2 separate regions of the Homo sapiens genome follow, and region 2 is linked to region 1. The links are contacts of gene promoters, found by promoter capture Hi-C in human tissues and cell types (Jung and others, 2019). All regions are on one chromosome and are shown on one strand. Each heading gives the region's core, a stretch centred on a gene start or on the middle of the fragment in contact. The rest is flanking DNA. Distances are from core to core; before and after follow the strand shown.

The links. Contacts are between HindIII fragments. The study calls those that stand out against the background at their distance.
Region 2: a contact is called between a fragment that was not itself captured here and the fragment with the promoter of MRGPRE in region 1, in 1 of the 25 tissues and cell types used here (small bowel).

Annotation. Positions count from the first base shown.
Region 1 is chr11:3,229,018-3,234,560 of GRCh38, reverse strand. It overlaps MRGPRE (MAS related GPR family member E), which reads left to right and starts at 2,144. Exons shown (of 2, transcript NM_001039165.4): 1 at 2,144-2,420. The HindIII fragment of the contact is 8,659 bases long and covers 1-5,543 here.
Region 2 is chr11:3,695,849-3,700,707 of GRCh38, reverse strand. NUP98 (nucleoporin 98 and 96 precursor) reads left to right here. Exons shown (of 33, transcript NM_016320.5): 24 at 1-98; 25 at 1,360-1,626. Among named protein-coding and RNA genes, the nearest start is that of CHRNA10, 27 kb to the right of the region's middle. RefSeq lists a silencer at 4,053-4,273. The HindIII fragment of the contact is 3,702 bases long and covers 1,679-4,859 here.

The DNA of each region.
Region 1 (5,543 bases), core at 895-3,394:
AGTGAAAGTGAAGCTCGAAAACATAAAGGAAGATGGACTAATTGGAAAGAGTCAGACAATTGGAGGGGTAGGGGAACTGGAAGGAGTGGGACAATAGGAGGGGTGGGACAATTGGAAGAGTGGGACAGTTGGAAGGGTGGGACAACTAGAATGGTAGGACAATTAAAAAGGTAGAACAATTGGAAGGAGTGGGACAATTGGGAGGGTTGGACAATTGGAACGGTGAGACAATTGGAAGGGTGGGACAATTGAAAGAGTGGGACAATTAAAACTGTGGGGAAATTGGAAGGGTGGGACAATTGGAAGAGTGAGGCAATTGGAAGGCAGTACAATTGATAGGAGTGGGACAACTGGAAGGAGTGGGACAACTGGAAGGTGAGACCATTGGAAAGGTGGATCAATTGGAAGGTAAGACCATTGGAAAGGTGGGTCAATTGAAAGAGGGGGACAATTGCAAGGGAAGGGCAATTTAAAAAGTGGGACCATTGGAAAGAATGGGGCAATTGGAAGGAGGGGGACAACTAAAAGAGTGGGATAATTAAAAGGATGAGGCAATTGGAAGGCTGGGACAATTGGAAAGAGTGGGAAAATTGGAAGGGTGGGACAGTTGGAAGGCTAATGCAATTGGAAGGTGGGATAATTGGAGGGTGGGACAACTGGAAGGAGTGGGACAAATGGAAGAGTGGGACAATTGGAAGGAGTGGGACAAATGGAAGAGTGGGACAATTGGAAGGAGTGGGACAATTGGAAGAGTGGGACAATTGGAAGGAGTGGGACAAATGGAAGAGTGGGACAATTGGAAGGAGTGGGACAAATGGAAGAGTGGGACAATTGGAAGGAGTGGGACAATTGGAAGAGTGGGACAATTGGAAGGAGTGGGACAAATGGAAGAGTGGGACAAATGGAAGAGTGGGACAGTTGGAAGGAGTGGGACAATTGGAAGGGTCGGGCATTTGGAAGGGTGGGACAGCTTTAAGGTGTAAGACAAGTGGAAGGCATGGAACTTATGAAAGGGTGGGATGGACAATTGAAAGGAGTGGCACTATTGGAACTGTGGGACAACTGGAGGGAGTGTGGCACTTAGAAGGGTGAGATATTTGGAACGTGTGGGGCGATTGGGAGCACTTCCCCCACACCCCTGGGCCATCCTTGAGTGACCACCCACTGGTAGGGCCTCCCAGAGCGGTGGCAGAGCCCAGGCATGGTTTACAGAGCCTCGGGCACCTGGCAGCTCGGATCCTGGTTTAGGAAGGGAGGATTTGAAGCTGAGACACAACTCAGCAAGCGGCACTGCTGCCTGTCAGATACCAGCCCCGCATGGACGTCAGACACCAGCGCGACACATTCATCAGACACCAGCATTGCACAGACGCCAGACGACCTGTGTGCGGCCCCTCCGTTTTGGGGATGGAGGATGCCGGTGCCCTGGGGGATGCCTGCTGATGTAGTGACAGGTCAAAGGCCACGTGCGGGAAACTTGCTCTCACTTGGTCCGCAAGAGGAGAGGTCAGGCGGACTGCGCAGAGTGGGAAACGCTCCGGAGCAAATCCGTGCTGTTTCTGCACTCTTCTCTACCTCGGAGATTTTTCTAAAGACAAAGATGAGAAAAGAGTTGCTAGGGCCTGGACTCGGGGAGGAACAGAGGCCAAAAAATGACCTTGTTTTCCTTCTCTTGGCACGTCAATTGCGATCTCCCTTAAGGCAGGGCACTGGAAGGAAAGGCACGGTCTGAAACGGGACTTGAAATCACTGAGTTCACGAGGTCTCCCGGAGCCTGACGCTGCTGTATGTGTTTGATTCTCCTCGGCCGGGGACCGCGCGGCAGCTTCTTGACACCGGCCATCTACTCTGTGCCTGCGAACGAGGCAGGAGGGACGGCCTCACGCACATCCCCGCTCCTCCCCGCGGTCCCACACTGCCTGGAGAGCTGGGGCCGGCAGCCTGTGCTCTGCGGAGAGAAAAACACATTTTTGCTGCAAGGACAAGTTCCGCCGGTAGCCCGGCTCTCAGCCGGCCCCTCCGAGGCACAGATGGAAAGAAGTGGTCCCTAAAGGGCCCTACAGGGCTTGGTGTCTCTGAGCCAGGAGTGCCAGTGAAGTCACAGCTTGGCTGGGCTCCACCCAGAGATCTCGTGGTTTCCTCTGCCTGCCAGGCCTGCCTGGAAGGCTGCAGGGAGGTTCAGGGTTTCTCTTGCTGTCCACACCTGGGCGAGAGCTGAGCGGAAGAGAAGGGGTCCTCAGAGAGACACCTTCCTGACCGGCCCCATTCCAGCTGGATGCCATGTGACTCGGAGGAGCTGGTGGACACTGAACAGGAGCCGCCCAGAGGCTCTGGGGACTGGAGCCCTCGGCCGCGGCCAGGATAGATCCAAGGCCCAGGGTCAGAGCAGGCAGGGCTCGGCCAGTCCTCTGCCCCAAACGGTGAGTAGCGCAGGTGGCTGGATCAGGGTGGGTCTCTGGGGCCGGCCCAGGCGCTCGGCATTTTCTGGGCTCTTTTGCTGGCCAGATGGTGGCAGGGGTGGGGCGTGGGCAACAGCAGATGCTATCAACAGGGAGCTCTCCAGGCTGCAGCCTCCGCCCTCTGACGGGCCGCACCACCTGGTCCGCAGCCAGCCCTGGGCTGAGTCTGGAAGAGGACGATAGCTTGGGTGATGGCTCCCCAACCCCCCACCCCCGGTGGCTCTGTCTCCTGTCTGCCTTGCTTCCTCCATGATCTAGAGTGTTCCCTGCAGGTGCAGACTCTCAAGGGGAGTCATGGGGGCAGCCGGGGATAGGCCCTCTCCTCCCTGCCACACCTGGGTGCTCAGCCTCAGGGCTTCTCAGTATTGGCTGTCTGGGCGGGACACAGAGCCACTCCTGGACCACCCAGGGATGGGGAATGCTGTGCCTCCCTCCTCTTCTGTTCCATCGTCCTTCCCCGCCTCCTCCCCTCCTTCTCCTCCCCCTCCTCCTCCTCCCTCCTGTTCTCTTCCATCGTCCTCCCCCGCCTCCTCCCCTCCTTCTCCTCCCTCTCCTCTTCCTCCTGCTCACCAAGGATGCAACAAACTCCTCTACTCCCCACAGTCCTGTAACCCAACTGTGGCGACCCTTCCTACAGAGCTCTGCCTCCCTCCCGAGCCCCCAGTGGGGCACATGGTCCCACAGGGAGACCTCCTCCAGGGTCACAGCAGAGAGGGGGCAGCAGCAGGGTCTGGCTGAGCTCCGTGGCTCTAACCCCTTGTCCCCCTGTTCTCCTCCCTGTTTCCTTCTCTGTCCCCCATCTCTTCATGCCTCTCCCCTTCCTGCACTCTCCCCTCTCCCTCTATGTCCATCGCTTCCCTGCCATGCTCTCTCCCTGGGGCCCACCCATGAGGCCCGTGTCCTCCTCAGCCATGCAGGAGGTGAGATAGGAGAGGGACCATGGCCCTTGGTGGGCCACAGGCTGGAGAAACCCCACCTGTTGCTTTGGGGCTGGAGCTTGCTGGTAGATCCCGGAGATAGCTCCGTCCATGGGTGGACGGGACTTGTGCCTGGGAGGGGGTCCACCATCAACAGACTTAAGACCTCCCAAAACTCATCTCTGCCTCCCTCTGGGCCTGAGGGTTGGTGACCCCCCCAAGCTATCCTGAGTAGGAGAGCATCTGTCCCCCTCCCCACATCTCCCCACCTGCCATGGCAGTGATGCCCCGTCTGCCCCACTCAGGGTGTCCTCCTGATGATGCTGGCCCAGGTGGGGCTCCCTCCACCACCACCTCACCTCCCACCCATGGTCTGCCTTCCCGGGGCCTTGGGTGCTAGGATGGAGCACAGGGACAGGAGGAAGAGCCCTATATCTCCAACCAGGCTTGACTCCACCCGCAGGAGATTCAGACTGGACCACGGGCAGGACTCAGCTTCCTGAGGTGCTGGGACTGGGGCCTCCTCTCCACTGAGCCCCCCACCCCCATGCCCACCCCTGAGGCGGGGACAACCTCAGGCTGTCATTTCACCCCAGTCAAACAAAAGACCACAGAGCTGAGGGTGTAAGCCGAGGGAGATGACCAGCACCTCACGGGGTGGCTGGCACCTCTGTGCTCAGCGATAGCCCCGCCCCGGGCCACCTCTCCCCAGCATCCCAGCACCGCAGCGTCCCCCTGCATGGTCTCGGGTGCTCCTATCACTGGAGGGAGACAGCAGGGGTTCTGAGCACAACCTTGAGGTGGGAAGAAGCCGCTAAGACCAGCTATGGGGGTTTCTGCTTGTACCCCCACCCTCCTCACCCCAAACCCCAGCCCTCCCAGGACACAGGAGGACCAGCCACCACCAAGGTGGGAGGGGCACCTGGTGTCGGCCCCTGACCCCAGCCAGTCTCTGGGGAGAGGCAAGGCCCCATCCCCTCTCCCCCAACCCCAAGAGGAGAAGCTGGGGTCACCAAGCACTCAGAGACACATGACGGGCCAGGTAACCACAGGGGCAGCATGGGGCCGGGTATCTGCAGGCATGTCTCCGGCTCTGAGCACCTGGCAGTCTCCTAGAGTCTATTACTTGCTGTATTTCTGGCAAAGCTGTGATGAAGACTCCGATTCCAGCCTAGGTCCCCTGGGATTTGTGCTGCCTCCCAGGACTCAGTACCCCTCCCGCAGGACCTGTCCCCGTGAGCCGACTGCCTTGGGAGGGGATGGAGGGAGGCTGGAGACGCCATGGAAGCTCAGGGCCCCTCCCAGCCCCATCATCAGACAGCTCCCTCTTCTCCCCATGGGGAAAGGGCGGGCAACGTTGAGCAGGATGCAGCCTCCTCATGTGCCCCCTACCCTGCAGAGGGCTGGAGTCCTGCTGTAGGACAGCAGGGACATGGCCAGGGGAAAGGGAGTTTTCCTGTGGCCCTGATGTGGCTGCATGGTGTGACCAAGCTGGAGGGCTGGGGACTGGGAGCCCACTGGCAAACAACCCCTCATGGATGTCAAGGAAAGGCCTCAAAGAGTTGAGGGCTGCTTTAAGATGATGACGAAAAGCCCCACAGCCACTGTAAGCTGTCCCTCTGTGGTCACACCACTCATTAGACATGGGCGGTGCCTCCTGCTCTGCCTATGACTTTAAAATAAGTCATATTTTATTCTTTGGGAGTCCAAGGCAGGCGGATCACGAGGTCAGGAGTTCGAGACCAGCCTGGCCAATATGGTGAAACCCTGTCTCTACTAAAAATGCAATAAATTAGCTGGGCATGGTGATGCACGCCTGTAATCCCAGCTCTTCGGGAGGCTGAGACAGGAGAATCACTTGAACCCGGGAGGCAGAGGTTGCAGTGAGCCGAGATGGTGCCATTGCACTCTAGCCTGGGGCAACAGAGCCAGACTCCATCTCCAAAAAAAAAAAAAAAAAAAAAAAAAAAAAGCCCATTCTGAGGATCAAGGCACCACTAGCAACAGGGAGCCCCATGGGTCTCAGACCCTCTCCCCACATCTCCTGGTCCCTGCCCCCACCTGGCCTACAGGGACCAGCCCCACGGAAGGCTCTTGAGGCCAGGTAACCATGGGGAGGGGAGGAATGGGGACACCTTCCTCCTGAGTGTCTTAGGGAAGAGAAGCT
Region 2 (4,859 bases), core at 2,280-4,779, 460 kb before region 1:
ACTGTGTCCTCTCATTGTCCCCAATCTGGGAGTTGCTGTCATTCATGACTATGCAGATTGGGTTAAAGAAGCATCAGGAGACTTACCAGAAGCACAAAGTGAGTACACACTATGTTTCTAATGTTTGATGTCCCAATAATAGTGGTGGTAGCGTATGTTCACGGGAGGATGAATTTCCTGGCACCAGTCTAGTAGGTAAATGCCTGTGCTTGTCATTTTCTGAGGTTGAGTTTAACTAAGCAGATTCCCAAGCAAGAAGAAATTGTCACTATGTTCTTGTCACTTTGTTCTTTTACCCATTAATGTACAAATTCTTCCACAAAGAACTGTAGCAAGTCAAATCCTTGGATTTATAAAATTGAATTTCTTACCTAATCCAGAGAACATAGGGAGAGAAATACATTCCTTCTTGCTTTACTTTTTTTTTTTTTTTTTTTTTGAGACGGAGTCTCACTCTGTCACTGTAGCTGGGAGTATAGGCGCGCGCCACCACACCCAGCTAATTTTTGTATTCTTAGTAGAGACAGGGTTTCACCATATTGGCCAGGATTGTCTCGATCTCTTGACCTCGTGATCTGCCTGCCTCGACTTTCCAAAGTGCTGGGATTACAGGCGTGAGCCATCGAGCCCGGCCCCTTCTTGCTTTTCTAAATCCTATCCATTCTTCCATATCCAGCTCAAGTACTGTTGGTCTTCTCAACAGCTTTGTTGTAATTCCTCTTCCTGGCTTCTTTCAAGATTACCTTTCTCATCTATCATGACCATGTTTTTCTGAATCAATACTTTGATAAAGGGGTTATCTAATTTATTAATATTTCAAACAGTAGAAAAATCATTTTGTTTAGCAAATCACGTTTATTGAAAAATGGGCTGTTTTAGAATGTCCTATGCCACACGTTTTGAGATTTGTTTATGTTCCTTCAGTTCTTTGTATTTACTTAATCGTCTCATTGTCTTTTCAAATGTGTAAGTTATTTTACCAGTGCATACTTGTAAGTGGCTTAAATGATAAACAGTACTTTTGTAGATTGATTTTTATAGACAGAATTTGATCAAAGTAGATATCATCTGAGATGACACTAGCCATAATTAGGCTTGGGGAACCTGTTTAACGGTTACATTTGTTATGTAAGTACCACAGAAACATGATATGAGCAAGCATTTATTTATACTATGTACTTCTGGAAATTGTAAGACGAAGTTGAGTGAGGTAGAGACAGATTCAGGGTAATCAGCTTGAGTGGTTGTTTGAGATGTCTATTAATTTATGTATTTTTAACATCACAGTTAGAAGGATGCCCTCTGTGAAGTTGTTGTAAGACTTTGTCTCGTAACATTGTTTTTCTCTTCCTGCCTTAGTTGTGAAGCACTGGAGCCTGACATGGACACTATGTGAAGCCCTATGGGGCCACCTGAAGGAGCTTGACAGCCAGCTAAATGAACCCCGTGAATACATTCAAATTCTGGAGCGAAGAAGAGCTTTCTCCCGCTGGCTATCCTGTACTGCCACACCTCAGATTGAAGAGGAAGTCTCCTTAACCCAAAAAAACAGCCCTGTGGAGGCTGTATTCAGCTACCTCACAGGCAAAAGGATCAGTGAGGCCTGCTCTCTGGCCCAGCAGTCAGGTGGGGAAGGCATATGGTCCTTCTCTGCGCCTCTGTCGCCTTCCTACTCACTGCCTCCTACCGCTCCCCGCTAATTGTGCATTTCCCTTTGGCTTCTAGCCTATGAGTATTAATTGCGGACTTCCCAGAAAGATTGCTGGTTCCCGTGGAATATGTAATATAACATAAAATTTAACTTTTAATCAAGTAAACAATGTTTAAGGTCCTAAACAGAGAATTAGAAGACATAGTGCGGCTGGGCTCAGTGGCTCATGCCTGTAATTCCAGCACTGTGGGAGGCCAAGGTGGGTAGATCACACCCACCTATTCCTATAGAATAGGAACCATGACTTTTTTTTTTTTTTTTTTTTTTTTTTGAGACAGTTTCACTCTTGTTGCCCAGGCTGGAGTACAATGGTGCGATCTCGGCTCACTGCAACCTCCTCCTCCTGGGTTCAAGCGATTCTCTTGCCTCAGCCTCCCAAGTAGCTGAGATTACAGGTGCCTGCTACCACACCTGGCTAATTTTTGTATTTTAGTAGAGACAGGGTTTCACCATGTTGGTCAGGCTGGTCTCGAACTCCTGACCTCAGGTGATCCACCCACCTTGGCCTCCCAAAGTGCTGGAATTACAGGTGTGAGCCACTGCACCCAGCCGAACTATGTCTTCTAATTCTTTTTTTAGGACCTTAAACATTGTTTACTTGATTAAAATTTAAATTTTATATTACATTTGTAATAAAACTAGAAAGCATAGATAAGCTATCAATCAAAATCACCCAAATCCTGTGACTACTACTCACTGCAAACATTTTAATGTGCAATTTGTACTTAATTCTTTACTTTGTAATACATACAAATATGTCCAGACACTGTGACATATGCTTGTGAACTTTTCAAAGGTGATATCCTGCTGTGTATTATATTCTGTTCTTTTCATGTGGCACATTACAAATGCCCTGTAATACAGATAATTATCAAATACTTCTTAGCATTCTTTTATGTATAAATGTACCATAGTAGTAAATTTCTTCCTTCACATTGAGACTTTTTTTAAAACTATAAACAGTACTCTGAATTGCTATAAAATATGTTCTATATCAATTCATTCAAATAAATATATAGAAGTTGAATTTCTGGGTTGAGGTACTCACTGGCTTTTTAAAAGGAATTTATATGCATATATTTACTTCTTTAAGTTCCCTTTCACTAATGAGGCAATTCAGCAAGTACTTAATGACTGCCTAGATATAAATCTTTTTTTTTTTTTTTTTTTTTTTTTAAGACAGAGTCTGTCTGTGTGTTTACCAGACTGCTGGAGTGCAGTGGAACGATCTCAGCTCACTGCAACCTTTACTTCCTGGGTTCAAGCGATTCTCCTGCCTCAGCCTCCTGAGTAGCTGGGATTACAGGTGCCTGCCACCATGCCCAGCTAGTTGTCTTTTTTTTTATTTTTAGTAGAGACAGGGTTTCGCCATGTTGGCCAGGGTGGTCTCAAACTCGTGACTTCCAGTGATCCACCCACTTTGGCCTCCCAAGTGCTGGGATTACAGGCATGAGCCACCGTGCCTGGCCATAAAGTCTTGATAAGAATACAGGATGGCATAGTTCAGCTTAATCTAATATGATCAGATCCTTATTCAAACCTTGATTGTTGGAACCTAATTTATCCAAAGCCAACTAATTGGAGCCATCGACTGGATTTATTTTGAAGAGTTTTGCCACTTTTGGGATTATAAGGAACAAATCACAGGAAAAGCCAGAATCAGTAAGCTATATAAAGGGCTTGTTGCATTCCACTGTCACTACACATTTAGCCTGGTAGCTTCCTGTTTTCTTTTCTTTTTATTTTTTAAATAGAGATGGGGTCTGTATGTTGACCAGGCTGGTCTCAAACTCCTGGCGTCAAGCAGCCCTCCTGCCTCAGCCTCCCAAAGTGCTGGGATTAGAGGCGTGAGCCACCACATCCAGCCTCCGTCTGGTACTATTTATGGTCTTTGTGCATTTGTACAGTGAGAATTTATCTTTGGGATTGATCTTGTATGAACTTATTATGAATCATTAAAAAAAGGTTATGCTCACCAGGACACCAACATGTAGTAGGAGAGGATCTTAAGGCATGCCAGAGTCAGATTCTTAGGGCTGTTGATTCATAAACTCCACTTTCTTCCTGTTTATTTTGACTGTAAGGCTAAACCTCTGGTAAAGGTACTGCCTTTTAGGTTACTAAAAGCTTTTGCTTTACTACTCCCCCCCTTTTTTTTTGTTTTTTGTTTTGTTTTTGTTTTTGTTTTCGAGACAGTCTCGCTCTGTACCCCAGGATGGAGTGCAGTGGCATAATCTTGGCTCACTACAACGTTTGCCTCCTGGGTTCAAGCGATTCTCCTGCCTCAGCCTCCTGAGTAGCTGGGATTACAGGTAACGTGCCACCACACTCGGCTAACTTTTGTATATTTAGTAGAGATGCCGTTTCGTCATGTTGGCCAGGCTGGTCTCGAACTCCTGACCTCAGGTGATCCGCCTGCCTCAGCCTTCCAAAGTGCTGGGATTACAGGCGTGAACCACTGCCTCCGGCCTTTTTTTTTCCCTCCCCCCTGCACCAAGACAGAGTCTTGGTCTGTCACCCAGGCTGGAGTGCAGTAGTGCAATCTCTGTTTACTGCAACTTCTGCCTTCTGGGTTCAAGTGGTTCTCGTGTCTCAGCCTCTTGAGTAGCTGGGACTCCAGTCACGTGCCACCACGCCAGGCTAATTTTTGTATTTTTAGTAGAGACAAAGTTTCATCATGTTGGCGAGGTTGGTCTCGAACTCCTGACCCCAAGTGATTTGCCCGCCTTGGCTTCCCAGAGCACTGGGATTACAGGTGTGAGCCACCGTGCCCAGTGTTTTCCTCCATTTTTCCTTTTTATGTTTAAGATAGAGTCTCGCTCTTGTTGCCCAGGCTGGAGTGCAATGGTGCGATCTTGGCTCACTGCAACCTCCAACTCATGGGTTCAAGTGATTTTCCTGCCTTAGCCTTCCAAGTAGCTGGAATTACAGGTGTGCACCAGCACGCCCGGTGATTTTTGTATTTTTAGTAGGGACGGGGTTTCACCATGTTGGTCAGGCTGGTCTCGAACTCGTGACTTCAAGTAATCCACCTCCCTTGGCCTGCCAGAGTGCTGGGATTACAGGCATTAGCCACCATGCCGGGCTGTTTTCCTCCATTTTGTAGCTGAGGTGTCTTGCCTAGTATCACAGAAGTAGTGGTAGATCT